Regions from separate parts of the Homo sapiens genome. Here region 1 is linked to region 2. Evidence: promoter capture Hi-C in human tissues and cell types (Jung and others, 2019). All regions are on one chromosome and are shown on one strand. The core of a region is centred on a gene start or on the middle of the fragment in contact, and the rest is flanking DNA. Distances in the headings are between cores, read along the strand shown. Region 1 holds the start of LRP1 (LDL receptor related protein 1). Region 2 holds the start of RPL41 (ribosomal protein L41).

Region 1 (6,961 bases), core at 1,594-4,093, 1.0 Mb before region 2:
TACACTCAATTTTGTCGCTAGTGGGGAGTGACGTTACTCCCCAAAGGGCAGGGGACCCCAGAGGCAGTTTCAGGCATAGAAGAGAAAGCAGAAGAGGTGGGAAAGCCCCTAGGATTGCTGCCCTGGAGAGAAAGCAGCAAGGCTGTGATAGCAGGAGGAAGGTAACATACTAAGTCAGGTGAGCTGGGTCATCTCCATTCTCTGGAAAGTAAACAAGAAAGTTCAATGTTGATGGACCCTGAGGCAAGAGGGCAGGGGTTAGGGATAAGGGATCCCCTAGGCTGCCTCTGGATAGAGTTGAACTTACATTTCTATGCAATTCCCCTTTCTCACCACCCTGTACCCAAGAGTGGGGTGGAGCTGATTATTTATATTCCCACTCCCAAGGCAGAAATATTGGTGTGTGTTTGGGGAGGGGTCCTCTCCTGGGGCTTTGGATAGTTTGATCTGAGCTGGAGATACAGAGGGGGCGTGGGTGAACATTTTAAGAAAGGGTAGGGAGATAGTTAAGGAGAACATGTCCAGTCTCTCTCTTCCACTAACTTGGTGTGGCAAATAGAACTCCTTTAGAGCCCTGGGAGTGATGCTATCTGGGGTCCCTTCCTGACCTTCCCTGCTCTCCACAGAAACCCTCTTGCTTCTGCCTAACTCTAGCCACCCTCCTTCAAGGGGCTCCTGATGGGTCTCTCTCTCTCTCAAATTTTTTTTCTATTCCTCCCAGAAGCGGCTGCAACCCCAATCTCCCTGCCTCGATTTCCCTTCTCACCTCACAGGGCTGAGAACAAGAGAAAAACACATGATAATGACAGGAGTTATAGGCAGAAGCCGGCTGTGCGGCATCTGGAGGATATTCAGGAAAAGCCCCTCTCCTCCTCCGGGGCAGCTAATTGGTGGGGTGGGGGTGGGGGGTAGAGAGTCCCCAAGATGGCACAACTGAGGGACACTAAATATGTTTTTTGGGGACACAGCTGCTTCCTGACCCTGTAAGTCTCCTCCCCCAATTGAAGCAAGTTAGGGAGAGGGAGGGAGATAATCTGGTTTCAGAGAAAAACTTTCCCAATCCCAATCTGGCAAGACAGAGGAGGGGGTGTATGATGGTATCCAGCCCAGTTTTGTCTTTGGATGAGAGGGCTAAGATGACAGGAGGGGATGAGATCCCACCCCTTCTCAAATCAGGGACCTAGCCCAGCCCAACCCCATGACCCCAGCTTAATGCTTAAAGCTTGGGCAAGACTTGAACCAGTGACTCACAAGTAGGAGAAAAAAACAGCTGACAAAAAAAGGGAAGAGAGGCACCCCATTTCCCCAAAAGGATGCAGTTCTAGCCTAAGCCTAACTCTGCAATATACAAAGTGTGTGTGTATGGGGTTTTGGGCTTGGAGGGGTGCAGGGAATAAACAGATTTACTAAAGGAGTGTGGGGGCACAGCCATAATCCCCATCCAACCTCCAACTCTCCTTCCAATCCAAACTGTGATGAAGCCAGAAGTCAGGAAGAAGGCAGCCTCCCCCACCCTCCTACCCCAGCATTCCAGGCCATTCTCCAGTCCCCTTCCCCAGTGATGACATCTGACGTTTTTTCATCTCAAAGCTCCCAGGAATTAAGAAGGAAAATTCAAAGTCACATAGTATGGCGAGCTCCCCCTCTCTGCCCCCCAACACAGCCCTACCCCAGGCTACTGACAGAGGCCCTGAGAGGGGGAAGAGCCTACTTCAGCACCCAGGCCTCCAGCCGGGGCTCTGGGGTCGATTCCACGCCCAAGCAGGGGGCCCTCCCTCTCCCCACCCACAGCCTTCCCGGGCCTGCCTGCCCTCTGCCCGGCAGGGTACCCCTGGCCTGGCTCCCCTTTCGAGCTACAGAGGCCAGTGCAAAAGCCACCCCCCCCACCCCCACCCCCTTTTGCAGCCGAACATTGCAAATCCGGATTCCTTCACAATTCAGATGGGGGGTGGGGGGTTGTGAGGATGTAGGGGAGGCGGAGGCCCTCCCCGAACAGAGATAGGAAAAGAAGGCCTCTCCTCCCCAGGATCAGAAAAATGGGGAGCCCTCTTCTCTCTACCCAGGCCTCTGGTCTTTGTTTGTGCTGGGGGGCCCCGGAAGCATCATTTGCCCAGGGCCCCCATCCCCCAAATCGGACCCCATCCCCGCCCCCAGTCGGGCCGCTGCTGTGTCAGCTGGACTGGGATAACAAAAGGCACCCCCTCCCGCGTCTCCCTTCCCCATCCGTATGCAGGAGTGGGGGCTGGGGAGAGGGTGCCCCCAGGGGTCCAAGGGGGACGCGGAATCTCACTCACCGTCGATAGCCGCCGCGACCAGAGCTGAGAGCAGGGGCAGCAGCAGGAGCAACGGCGGGGTCAGCATGGTGTGGGCTGATGCAAGCAGCAGCCCCTTCCCCTCTGGTCCTGCTACTTCTCTCCTTCACCCCCCCCAGTTGGGGGGTCCCCCTTTTCCTCCTTTCCCCCTCCTCCTTCTCTGTTCTTATTCTTTCCTTCGGCAAAGCGCACCAGGGGCGTGGGTGAAGAGGTAGAGTTCCGAGCCCCTTGGGGAGGGCCTGCTGACGGGGGTGCGCCCCCTGCCCCGAAATCCAAACCCTTCACCCCACCCCCCCGCTTCACTCCTCGCTGCTCTTTCCCCCTCCCCGGGCGAAGCTCACAGCCCCATCTCGGAGCCGCCTCCGGCTGCAAAAATGCACAATTGGGAGGAGGCGGGGAGGGGGGGTGGGGGGCGTGGACCGGGTAGGGGAGCCTTTGGAGGGGGCTTGATGGAGCTCTGGGGGCTCCCCTTGTTTCCGCCTCCTCAGTGCATGGGCCTGGAGCTCGCACCGCTGTTCCCCGGACTGAAGTGCCGAGGGGGGGGCTGATGGGGGAGAGGGAGGGGACGGGTTGAGGAGGGAGGGAGGGAAGGGGCGGGGAAAGAAAAAAGGTTGGTGGGTGGGGGGAGAAAGAGCTACGCGGCAATCCAGTGAGTGCGCATGCGCCGATTTGACGCGCTGCCCGGGGGAGGGCGACGCGGACCCGCGACAGGGTTCGGAGTTCTGGAAAGCGGTCCAAGAGTGAGGGTCCCGGGGACTCGCTGGCTAGTTTGGGGCCTGGGGCGCCCTCTCCCCTGGCTGGGCCCTCCTCCCTGGTGCTCCAGAGAGCAGAAGGGGTCGAGGGTGGGATTGGGCAGTGGGCGGAGAGCTGAGCGGCTCCCCTTTGAAACTCAGTGTCATACTCTAGGATTTCAGGCTCCCTCCGGGGGCGTCCGGGACTCAGTGGTCTGGGCCGAGGCTCGATTTTCTAGGGGAACCCTGAAGGTGCCTCCTCTGCCCGGGGTGGGGACAGGGACCGCCAGTCCGCGGGGAAGGTGCAGGGAAAGGCTGAGCTTTGATTTGGAGACTTTGGAAGACCGGACTGGGATTGGGGCCTGCGAAGGAGGGGGCGGGGTTGGGGAGGGACCGCGAGGACCCGCCCCCACCTCGCTCCCGGGCTCGGAGTAAACAGGGACACCCGAGGGGACACGCCGGAGCTTGTCCGCCCGCGTGGGGCTCGGGGATGGAGCCCACCTTAGTACCCGCCCGCCCTGCTCGCCCAGCCCTAGGCGCGGGAGGGGCAGGCCCTGGTTTGGAGGGAGGTGAGTCACCAGCGGGTGGGGTTGAGGAAAGGCCACCCCCTTTCGCCCAAGAAGTCGGGGCTCATTTATTTTTCTGTTTTTTTTTTTTTTTTTTTTTTTAATACCTTCTGACTGGCTTGCCATCAAGTTAGGGTTTTAGATTCCGAGCGCCAGGATTTGGAATAAGATGAGGGACTCTGGACCTTCGTTTCCAGGCCTCGGGTTCCAAGGAGGTGTCTGCTGAGCGCCGGACCTTTGTCCCCAGGCTCAGCCCACACGGGAATGATACTTTGCAGAAGGCAGGCGCCAGGCGGTTCCCAGGGGCCAGTGAACGTGCTTTTGGTCACTGCCCCCTTCTGGGCGGCGTTTTATGGCTGTTACCTTAGTGTCTGACTTTCTAGGTGTCTGCATGTCAGAGTTCAAGGAGCGGGGCAGACGACGTCGGCTGCCAAAAATTGACGCTGGAGAGGAGGGACTGTTCCCCCTTTTACGTTCTAGTTACGGAAAAGTCCCCACTCCAGTCTGTCCTTGGCAGAAACAGGAGCAGCACGAAGGACTTGCCTCCTAATGACAGTGAGCTCAACCTTTAGCTTCTTCCAGCCGGCTTTGCTCAGCGCGGTGGCCACCTGCCTTTAGTCTCCTGGGCTAGAAACCTCAGACTTTATGCCAACTCAAGGGGGCCTTTCCTTCCTATATCCAATCTTGCCAGCCTGTGCTCCAGGCTTGTCATTTTTTTCCTCTGAAGTATATCTCAGATTTCCTCCATTTCCACTGCCAGAGAGTTGCTCCAGGCAGGAACGGGGTCTTATTTCTCCTTTTATCCAGCTCCCATGGCCCAACACAATGTGAGACGCACTATGCGGACTCACCAAATGCCTACGAGGTTCCTCCCAGGGCCCCTCCCAGTATTGGGATCCAAGTGAAATCAGGTCGAAACAGACTTTAGACAGCTTGACAGCTTTGAGAGGAAAACGGTATCTGGAGCAACCACATGTAGCCTGAGGGCTTGAAGGGGCTTTCCTCCCTCCCCCTACCCATCTGTCAGGTGAATCTTCCAAAAACTGCTTTCCCGGTGTCTCTTCCTTGCTGGGGAACCTCTAGTGGGTGTCTATAGACCAGTCAAATGTGAACTCCTCTTCAGTCATGGCTTTCCAAAACCTGGCCTCAGTCAGCATGCACTTCTCACTTGCAACCTCCCATCCCCTGCTGTCTCCTGAATGTGAATGTGTATTTTTATTAACTTTATATTGTTAAAAAAAAAAGAAAGAAAGAAAAGATAATACCTAGTGGTTAAAAAAAGTACAGGAAGGTAAAAAGTAAAAGGAAACTTGATGCTCTCCACACCCCCATTTTTCAGCTGCACCCTCAGAGTAACTTCTACTAACAGTTCTTCAGGTCTCCCCTACCAGCAGAGGTTTCCCCCCCGCCCAAGACGGAGTCTTGCCCCGTTGCCCAGGTTGGAGTGCAGTGGCCTAATCTCGGCTCACTACAACCTCTGCCTCCCGGGTTCGGCGATTCTTCTGCCTTGACCTCCCAAGTAGCTGGGATTACAGGCACACGCCACTATACCCAGCTAATTTTTTTTGTATTTTTGGTAGAGATGGGGTTTCACGATGTTGGCTAGGCTGGTCTCGAACTTCTGACCACGTGATCTGGCCTCCTCAGCCTCCCAAAGTGCTGGGATTACAGGCGTGAGCCACCGTGCCCGGCCAGGAGAGTTTTTAAAACAGTAACATACAGGCCAGGCGTGGTGGCTCATGCCTGTAATCCCAACACTTTGGGAGACGAAGGTGGGAGGATCACTTTTCAGGAGTTCGAGACCACACTGGCCAACATGGCGGAACCCCATATCTACTAAAAATACAAAAATGAGCCACGTATCGTGACGCATACCTGTAATCCCAGCTACTGGGGAGGCTGAGGCACGAGAATCGCTTGAACCCAGGAGGTGGAGGTTGTGGTGAGCCGAGATCGTGCCACTGCACTCCAGCCTGAGCAACAGAGGGAGACCCTGTCTCAAATAAATAAATAAATAAAACAGTAACATACAAATATAAGTGAATATCCTTTAAAACTATAAAGAAACTCATATGATATATAGTGTTCTGTAACTTGCCTTTTTTTCAATTAACTTAGCTTGATCCCTTTCCATACCGTATGAACGCATTTAGCTCACCCTTTGATCTTGGCTACTTGGAATCTCCTTGCTTGGATGTTCCACAGTTTGTTGGGATTGTTGGGCACTTGGGTTATTTCCAGCAGGTGAACTGCTGAGGGTATGTCTGTAAGGTGAGAGAATGCATATTTATGTCTTTCTTTCTTTCTTTCTTTCTTTTTTTTTTTTGAGATGGAGTTGCACTCTTGTTGCCCAGGCTGGAGTGCAGTGGTGTGATCTCAGCTCACTGCAACCTCCACCTCCCAGGTTCAAGCGATTCTCCTGCCTCAGCCTCCCGAATAGTTGAGATTACAGGCACCCACCACCATGCCTGGCTCATTTTTGTGTTTTTAGTAGAGATGGGATTTCTCCATGTTGGCCAGGCTGGTCTTAAACTCCTGACCTCAGGTGATCCATGCACCTTGGCCTCCCAAAGTGCTGTGATTACAGGTGTGAGCCACCTCACCCTGCTGAGAATGCATATTTCTATCTGAGCCATTAATGATACAGTTCCCCTGCTCCTCTACCCTCCTCAGAAAAGCCCTCCTGTTATTCTCGCTCTGCCTATCTCTCCTGTTCCAAACTTGTATTCAGGAAAGCTTCAGTATCCAGAGTTTAGCACTTTATTTTGTGGGCTCTGTATCCACCACTAGACTATATACTCCTTGAGGGCAGGGACCATGTCTTTTTCTTCTTCGTTTCCACCCAGCGTGAGAGGCTCTTGATTGGTGAAAGGAATGTTAGGACTAGAGTTGCCTTTCCTGGAACAGGATGTGACTTCAAGCATCTTCTTCCCTCTATTTCTCTTATAGCATTCATTGTTTAATCCTCTCTGCCTCAGTGCCTTCTCTTCCTCCCCACATCTGTTCTTAAGAGGCATCTTCAAATCCTTGGGTTGAGATTATAACCATAATAGTAGGGAATCATGGAGGAATTCTCTGAAATTCATGATTGATACCTGGAATGGTGATGAGGGCAAAGAAGCTAGTGTGGGTAAAGGGCATCTCTTTTTTCGGGTCGCTCAGCAAATTACAAAATACCCGCCTTTTCTGAGTATAGCAGGGCCTGGGCTGGGGCGTTAATTGGGTAGCTCTGGAACTGAATGTCAAGCCAGAGGCTAGCACCACCTAGTGGTCAGTTAAGGAAGTGTGCGTAGGAAGGGTATCCCGGAAAGGTCTGATGGCAGGCGGAGAGAGGGAAAAGGACCAGTATTTA
Region 2 (6,301 bases), core at 684-3,183:
AGTGAAGCGGGGAGCTGGAGCTCCAGGTGTCATCAAGCTGAGGGGATGGGCAGGGTTGTGACGTCACGAAGCTGGCGTTTGCTCGCGATGCGGGGTCACTCAGAAAAGGGGCACTGCCCTGGGGTGTGAGGACGAGCCAGCTCGGTTCTGGGGGGCCTTCTGTGGCCTGGCCGAGCCCAGCCGCTGGGCCGGCCCCGACTCCTCCCCTCCGGGCGCGGCCTCCACCTAAGTCTCCCGCCTCCCTCACCTGCCGCCGCCGCCGTAGTTGCTGCTGCCGCCTGCCGGTCCTCTAGCTTCGACAAAGAGCCGCCTACCCGATCGCTCTTCCGCTTCCTGCGGAAGAAGTGACGCTCTAGCCAGCAGACCCGGAACCATACTCTATGGTGTATGAAGTACGCGTGCGACATGCCGCAGGGCGTTCCCAGCACGCTTTGCGTGTCACTATGGCAACCCAACCCAAAGGCACGACATGGTCTAAGCGGTAGTCGCCAAGGCAGCCCTCCTGGAAAGGGGCGGTACCAGCATTGGCCCCTAATAACCCGCGAAACCTAAAACCTGCCTCCAGAGACGTACCATATCCCATCCAACTCCAGCGAGATGCAAACCACACCACGTAACCCGGGCTGTTGCCTTTATAGCTTTGATACCCTCCATAGCACAGGTAGTGACAGGGCAAACTCTAATGACAGAAAACCCCCACCCGATGGAACCATAAAAAACATAATAGACAAGATGATTTAATTCTTCAGCTAAAACAGCGGAAGAGGTGATTTATTATATGGTTGTTACACTCGGCCACAAATAAACACAGAAATAGTCCAGAATGTCACAGGTCCAGGGCAGAGGACCAACATGGGCATTTTGTTTATGAGCAAGGTGGGTCTCAGAGGTGATCGGCGATCAGAGGGCGATGAAGTTCTAGATCCATTGAGACAAGCTCTAGACAGTAGCATGCAGTCCCACAACTTGTACCAGCATCCCCAGCGTCTGGCATTCCATGTTTCTGCTCCTGTGGCCTCCACGGTGCAACAAGCTAGCGGTTTACTTGGACCTCTGCCTCATCTTTCTTCTTTTGCGCTTCAGCCTGAAAAGCAGACACAGGAATGGAATACACCTCAAACCAGAGTTGCCTTTCCCTCCCACATTAAATCAAACGTCCACATAAAGAATGAGGTGGTAAAATGAACAAGCACTACGGTTCTATCGTTCTCTGTTCTGTTAAATCCTGGCTCCAGGGAGAAAACACTCAAACGTTTTTCTCCTAAAGATCTTTTAAGATTTCCAAACCAAATGTTTCTCCTAAGTTTTGTCCAAGGAACTTCCCTCCTCCTGGGCTGGCAAAGTCTCAACGTACCTGCGCATTCGCTTCTTCCTCCACTAGCAACCGATCACAAGCAGCAGATAATTAAAAAAAAAAAAAAAAAAAAGGGATGAAGCTTATTAGTAGGCTTAGCAAGGATATGAAATGCACTCTTTAGAACCGGACAGATTCTTAACCAAGAAGTATGAAAGATTGGTCGTAACAACTACATCAGTAACTTGGACACCCTCCCAACATAAGATCAGAATTCCACCCTTTTCTAAGCCCACCCTCTCTACCCATAGCACTTAACCGCTAGCTCTCTCACAAACTACCTTCTCTCTCCCACCAGCTCTTGGGCACCCTTGAAACCCAGTAGTTCAGGAGGTATGGCGGACTTGCCTTCGTCTCCTCGCTACTACTCGCCAACTCCTACCTCCCAAGCTTACTACCAGGAACCGCTCACCTTGGCTCTCATGGCGCAGAGGTTTCTACAGGGAAAGAGAGAAAGGCTACAGTTAGTTTGCTGTGATGATGCTAAGTGCCGAGGTCAGATGTCTATGGATTGTACACGGAATCCCAACGCAGGAACCAAAAAACACTCACCCAAAAAAATGGCGCTAAGGCCGAGAGAAAGGCGAAGTTCCGTCTACGGCTATTTAATGGAGCGCCGGGTGTCGTCACTTCCGCTTTCACGCCCTTTGCCCCCCCCAAGGGCGGGGCTACCCAATGGGCGTAACAGTGGTTTTCGGACCCTCTTGTAGAAGGGTAGGTTGAGTTAGTTCTTTCGGAAGACCGAGTATTTGGTTTTCGAGTTACCAGTTCCCCCCCAGATTTAGTATGAGGACGCTGTGTTATTTAAACGTCAGCACCTATTTCCAATATTGGACCTAGAGGTGCAGACGGGGAAAAAATAGTGACCGCCACCTTCCCTCGCATTGCTTCTTGGGAGTTGCAGTTCCCTGGAGAAGTCCTCCATTTTGCTATGGATAGGCGCGGACTGTACAGAAATTCTTGTTTTACTGGTTTGCCTTCTTTTCTTTCTTTCTTTCTTTCTTTCTTTCTTTCTTTCTTTCTTTCTTTCTTTCTTTCTTTCTTTTCTTTCTTTCTTTCTTTTTTTCTTTTTTGAGACAGGATCTCACTGTGTCACCCAGGCTGGAGTGCAGTGACGCGATCTCGGCTCACCGCAATTTCCGCCTCCTGAATACAAGCGATTCTCCCGCCTCAGCTTCCCGAGCAGCTGGGACAACAGGCGCGCGCCACTTGGCTAATTTTTGTATTTTTAGTAGAGACGAGGTTTCGCTGTGTTGCCCAGGCTGGTCTCGAACTCCTGAGCTCAAGCGATCCGCCCGCCTCGGCCTCTCAAAGTGCTGGGATTACAAGCATGAACCACCGCGCCCAGCCGGTTTGCCTTATTTTCTAAAATAAATTGCTGCAGGGTGATTCGATTCCGGAACCATCGAAGGTCCTAAGATTTCAGAACATAGGAAGATATAAAGTGGGGATTCGGGAAAGCTGCCATACTTCAAAAAATATTTTCTCACTGTTTAAGATAGAGCAATTATTTTTCCTAAATTTCAAGAATAAAATAGCTGATTATGGTCTTCCCCCACGATGCCCGAAGCAAAATATCACTAGAGATTCCTGGCTACAATGCATCATTTGTTCAGAAAATACGTCAGCGGGCTGGGCACGGTGGCTCATGCCTGTAATCCCAGCGCTTTGGGAGGCTGAGGTGGGGGAATCTCGAGCCCAGGAAGTCGAGGCTGCAGTGACCTATGCAGTGATTCTCTAGGGGTGAAGAGCGAACCAACGGACATAGGGAGAAAATTACCTAAATCTAGGGAAAGTATGACATTTGGTGTTAAGATAAAGAACTTCCCAGTTTGATTGTATGCTCAGGTGAGAAGCACTGGAAAACAACCAGATCCCCTAAGATTTGGCTACAGGAAACTTTTGAGTTAATGGGGGATGAAAAAGAACCCTTTCCCTATAGAGACTTCATCTTACAGTTTTAAAATACTGTAACATTTTGTATGTGATTGTTACAATCCCTCTTTTTTTGTGGTTTCCCTTTATTATATTCCAGGATAGCATTTCACTTTCAATCCCTGAAAAACGTTTTTAAAATTAGGTTCCTTCTAAGTAGTTGTAGTATTGTCACCACCCAAATATATATGACAATTTTTTTGAAACAAAAAAAATCCTAGCAGAATTATTTTGTATCAGTTCCACCAAGATTTCAACTGATGATTGCCAACTAGTTTATAAGCTCTTTGAGGGAAATTTTGTTTGCTTGTTTTTGATACGGAATGGAATCTCACTCCTGTCACCCAGGCTGGAGTGCAGTGGCGCGATCTTGGCTCACTGCAACCTCCGCCTCCTGGGTTCAAGCGATTCTCCTGCCTCAGCCTCCCAAGTAGCTGGGATTACAGGCGCCCGCCACTAAGCCTGGCTTTTTATATTTTTAGTAGAGATGGGGTTTCACCATGTTGGCCAGGCTGGTCTTGATCTCCTGACCTCAGGTGATCTGCCTGCGTCGGCCTCCCAAAGTGCTGGAATTACAGGTATAAGCCACCGCACTTGGCTGTTTTTTTCTTTTTTTAATAGACTTAATTTTTTAGAACAGTTTTAGGTTCACAGCAAAATTGAGAAAGGTATAGACATTTCCCACACATATAGCCTCCCCCTTTATAAACATCACTCCACCCTGCCAGAGTGGTACATTTGTTAACAATAGAACCTACGTTGATATACCATTATCACCCCAAATCCATAGTTTAGTTTACACTAGGGTTCACTCTTGGCATTGGCATTGTACATTCTTTGCCTTTGGACAAATGCGTAAGCAAGGAGAGAGAGATGAACAGGCAAAACACAGAGGATTTTTAGGGCACTAAAACTACTCTATTTTAATGGTAGATATACATCATTACACATTTGACCTGTGTTCAGTTCTGTTCACTTGTAGTATCTCTAGTTTAGCAATTCCTGACATGTAGTAAGATAAACTAATTACCCATCTGACCTTAGTCTGGCCCTGAAAACTAGTGTACCATTCTTCCTGGCTTCTTGAATTCAAGATAAACACTTGCAGTACTGTTTTTGCAGTAGACATTGTGTCCTAGCCCCAAACAAATCTTAGCAGTGAGGACTGTTTCTACTTAGAAAATTACACCACCCAACTCCAGCAGATTACTATATCATCAAAGATTCTAAGATTTGTGTCTTCTGCAAGTCAAGACATTCCTCGTTTTGGGAAGGTAGAGCATGGCACTGTGGAGGAACAGTTCCAATACCACTTCAACTGACATTCTCCCCACCTCCATCAAACAAGAGCAGCATACAAAGCACATCATTATGAGCAAATCCAAATTTATTTTAATGTCATGTCATTTTCAATGTGTTTAAAAACCTCATAAGTTAGTGGGAGCCCTAGTTTCCTGGGACAGCATGCCAGAGGTACTGAAATTTGTCACCTTTCTCTACAAACCCCCAGCAATCCAATCCAAGTCCATAGCTTCAGAAAGCCAGGAGTTGTGTCTTCAGTCAGTCTACGCCTCTGGTTCTTGGTTTTTCTTTCATGGGAGGGAGATCACAATATTTCAAACAGGGAACAAAACCAGTTGAGCTTCCAGCTCAGGTCTGTGTAAGATGGAGCGAGGAAAGACCCCACTGACTCCAGAGAAAAAGGGTAAGGTTGAGATGGATTATTTCTTTACAGCTTTGTGAAAATGGAAGAAAAAAGATTTACAAATGAGGATCCATTTCATAGATGAGAATCTCTTCATAAATGAAGGCTCCAGCTCCTAAAATGGGAGGGGCCTGACTGGACAGCCTGAATCAGATGAGGAATCGGCCACACTGAATAAAAACAATCTGAAAAATAATCCTCTTAATTTTGAAGCCAGATAAAATATTTGGGGAGAATGGAAAAAAGAGGAAAAAGCCCCAAACAGATGGAAAAAATGCTGACATCAGAGTGGTATAAAAAAATTCGGCTGAGTTTTCAGTGGTGGTGGCTAATTTAGCCCTGTTCTGTAGTGGGGCACAAACCTTGACCAAGCAGAGAGTAGTAGAAAAGGCTAGAAAGAGGGGCTTGAAGACGATGAATTTTGACTCCTGATTTTATTATTCAATTTCTTTTTTTCATTTAAAGTAGTCTTCCGTGGTTGGGAAGCCTCACCTCCCAAGACCAGAGTCAGTTGGAGCTGGTTGTTGTTGGAAGGGAGTGGGTTGGGGAACTGGGGTGGGGGCAGGGAGATCCCCCCGCTCTGCTGGCGGTCCTAGGTGGAGAAGAACTGCACTTCACAGAGTCTGGGGTTTGGTGGGAAGGGGATGAGGCAGGAGCAGCAAGCTGGGGAGATGGGACCCACCTCAGTCCCCAGCTTCATTTTCTTCTAATGTTTCCCCACTGGTGGCATTCTCTGCAGTCTTGGAGGCCTATATGCAAGAAAAGGAGAGGGAGAAGACCTGTCAGTTTCTAACTACTTGGGGATGTCTGGGACCAGAGATAAAAGTATTTTTTTTTCTGAGACAGTCTCACTCTGTTTTCCAGGCTGGAGTGCAGTGGTACCACTTCCCTGGGCTCAGGTGATCCTCTCACCTCAGCCTCCCAGGTAGCTGGGACTATAGGCATATGCCACCATGTACAACTTTTTTGTATTTTTTGTAGAGATGAGGTTTCACCATGTTGCCCGGGCTGATCTTGAACTCCTGGGCTCAAGTGATGCTCCTGCCTAGGCCTCCCAAACTGTTGGGATTATATGTGTGAACCACCACACCCAGCCATAAAGTTATCTCAATCCTCTGGGTCACAGCTGAAATAAAGACATACAGGTCTCTGACTTACAATGGTCAACTTGTGATTTTTCAACTTCACAATGGCGTGAAAGCAATATGGATATTTCGATACATGATAATTTGTTCAATAAATGTTTTGAGCACATTCAAGGTAGGCCAGGCTAAGCTATGAGGTTCATGGTAGGTTAAGGTACATCA

What was found. The method cuts DNA at HindIII sites, captures the fragments that hold promoters and counts their contacts. A contact is called where the count stands out against the background at its distance.
Region 1: the fragment with the promoter of LRP1 here is called in contact with the fragment with the promoter of RPL41 in region 2 in 1 of the 25 tissues and cell types used here (thymus).

The regions. Positions count from the first base shown.
Region 1 is chr12:57,124,365-57,131,325 of GRCh38, reverse strand. It overlaps LRP1 (LDL receptor related protein 1), which reads right to left and starts at 2,843. Exons shown (of 89, transcript NM_002332.3): 1 at 2,295-2,843. The coding sequence starts at 2,361. RefSeq lists enhancers at 1-101, 3,183-3,836. The HindIII fragment of the contact is 3,919 bases long and covers 1-3,784 here.
Region 2 is chr12:56,112,265-56,118,565 of GRCh38, reverse strand. It overlaps RPL41 (ribosomal protein L41), which reads right to left and starts at 1,933. Exons shown (of 3, transcript NM_001035267.2): 1 at 1,767-1,933; 2 at 1,355-1,377; 3 at 599-1,084. The coding sequence starts at 1,778. The coding sequence ends at 1,042. PA2G4 (proliferation-associated 2G4) reads right to left here. Exons shown (of 13, transcript NM_006191.3): 13 at 4,656-5,743. The coding sequence ends at 5,678. It overlaps ZC3H10 (zinc finger CCCH-type containing 10), which reads right to left and starts at 300. Exons shown (of 3, transcript NM_032786.3): 1 at 248-300. RefSeq lists a silencer at 576-625 and an enhancer at 2,292-2,341. The HindIII fragment of the contact is 6,838 bases long and covers 506-6,301 here.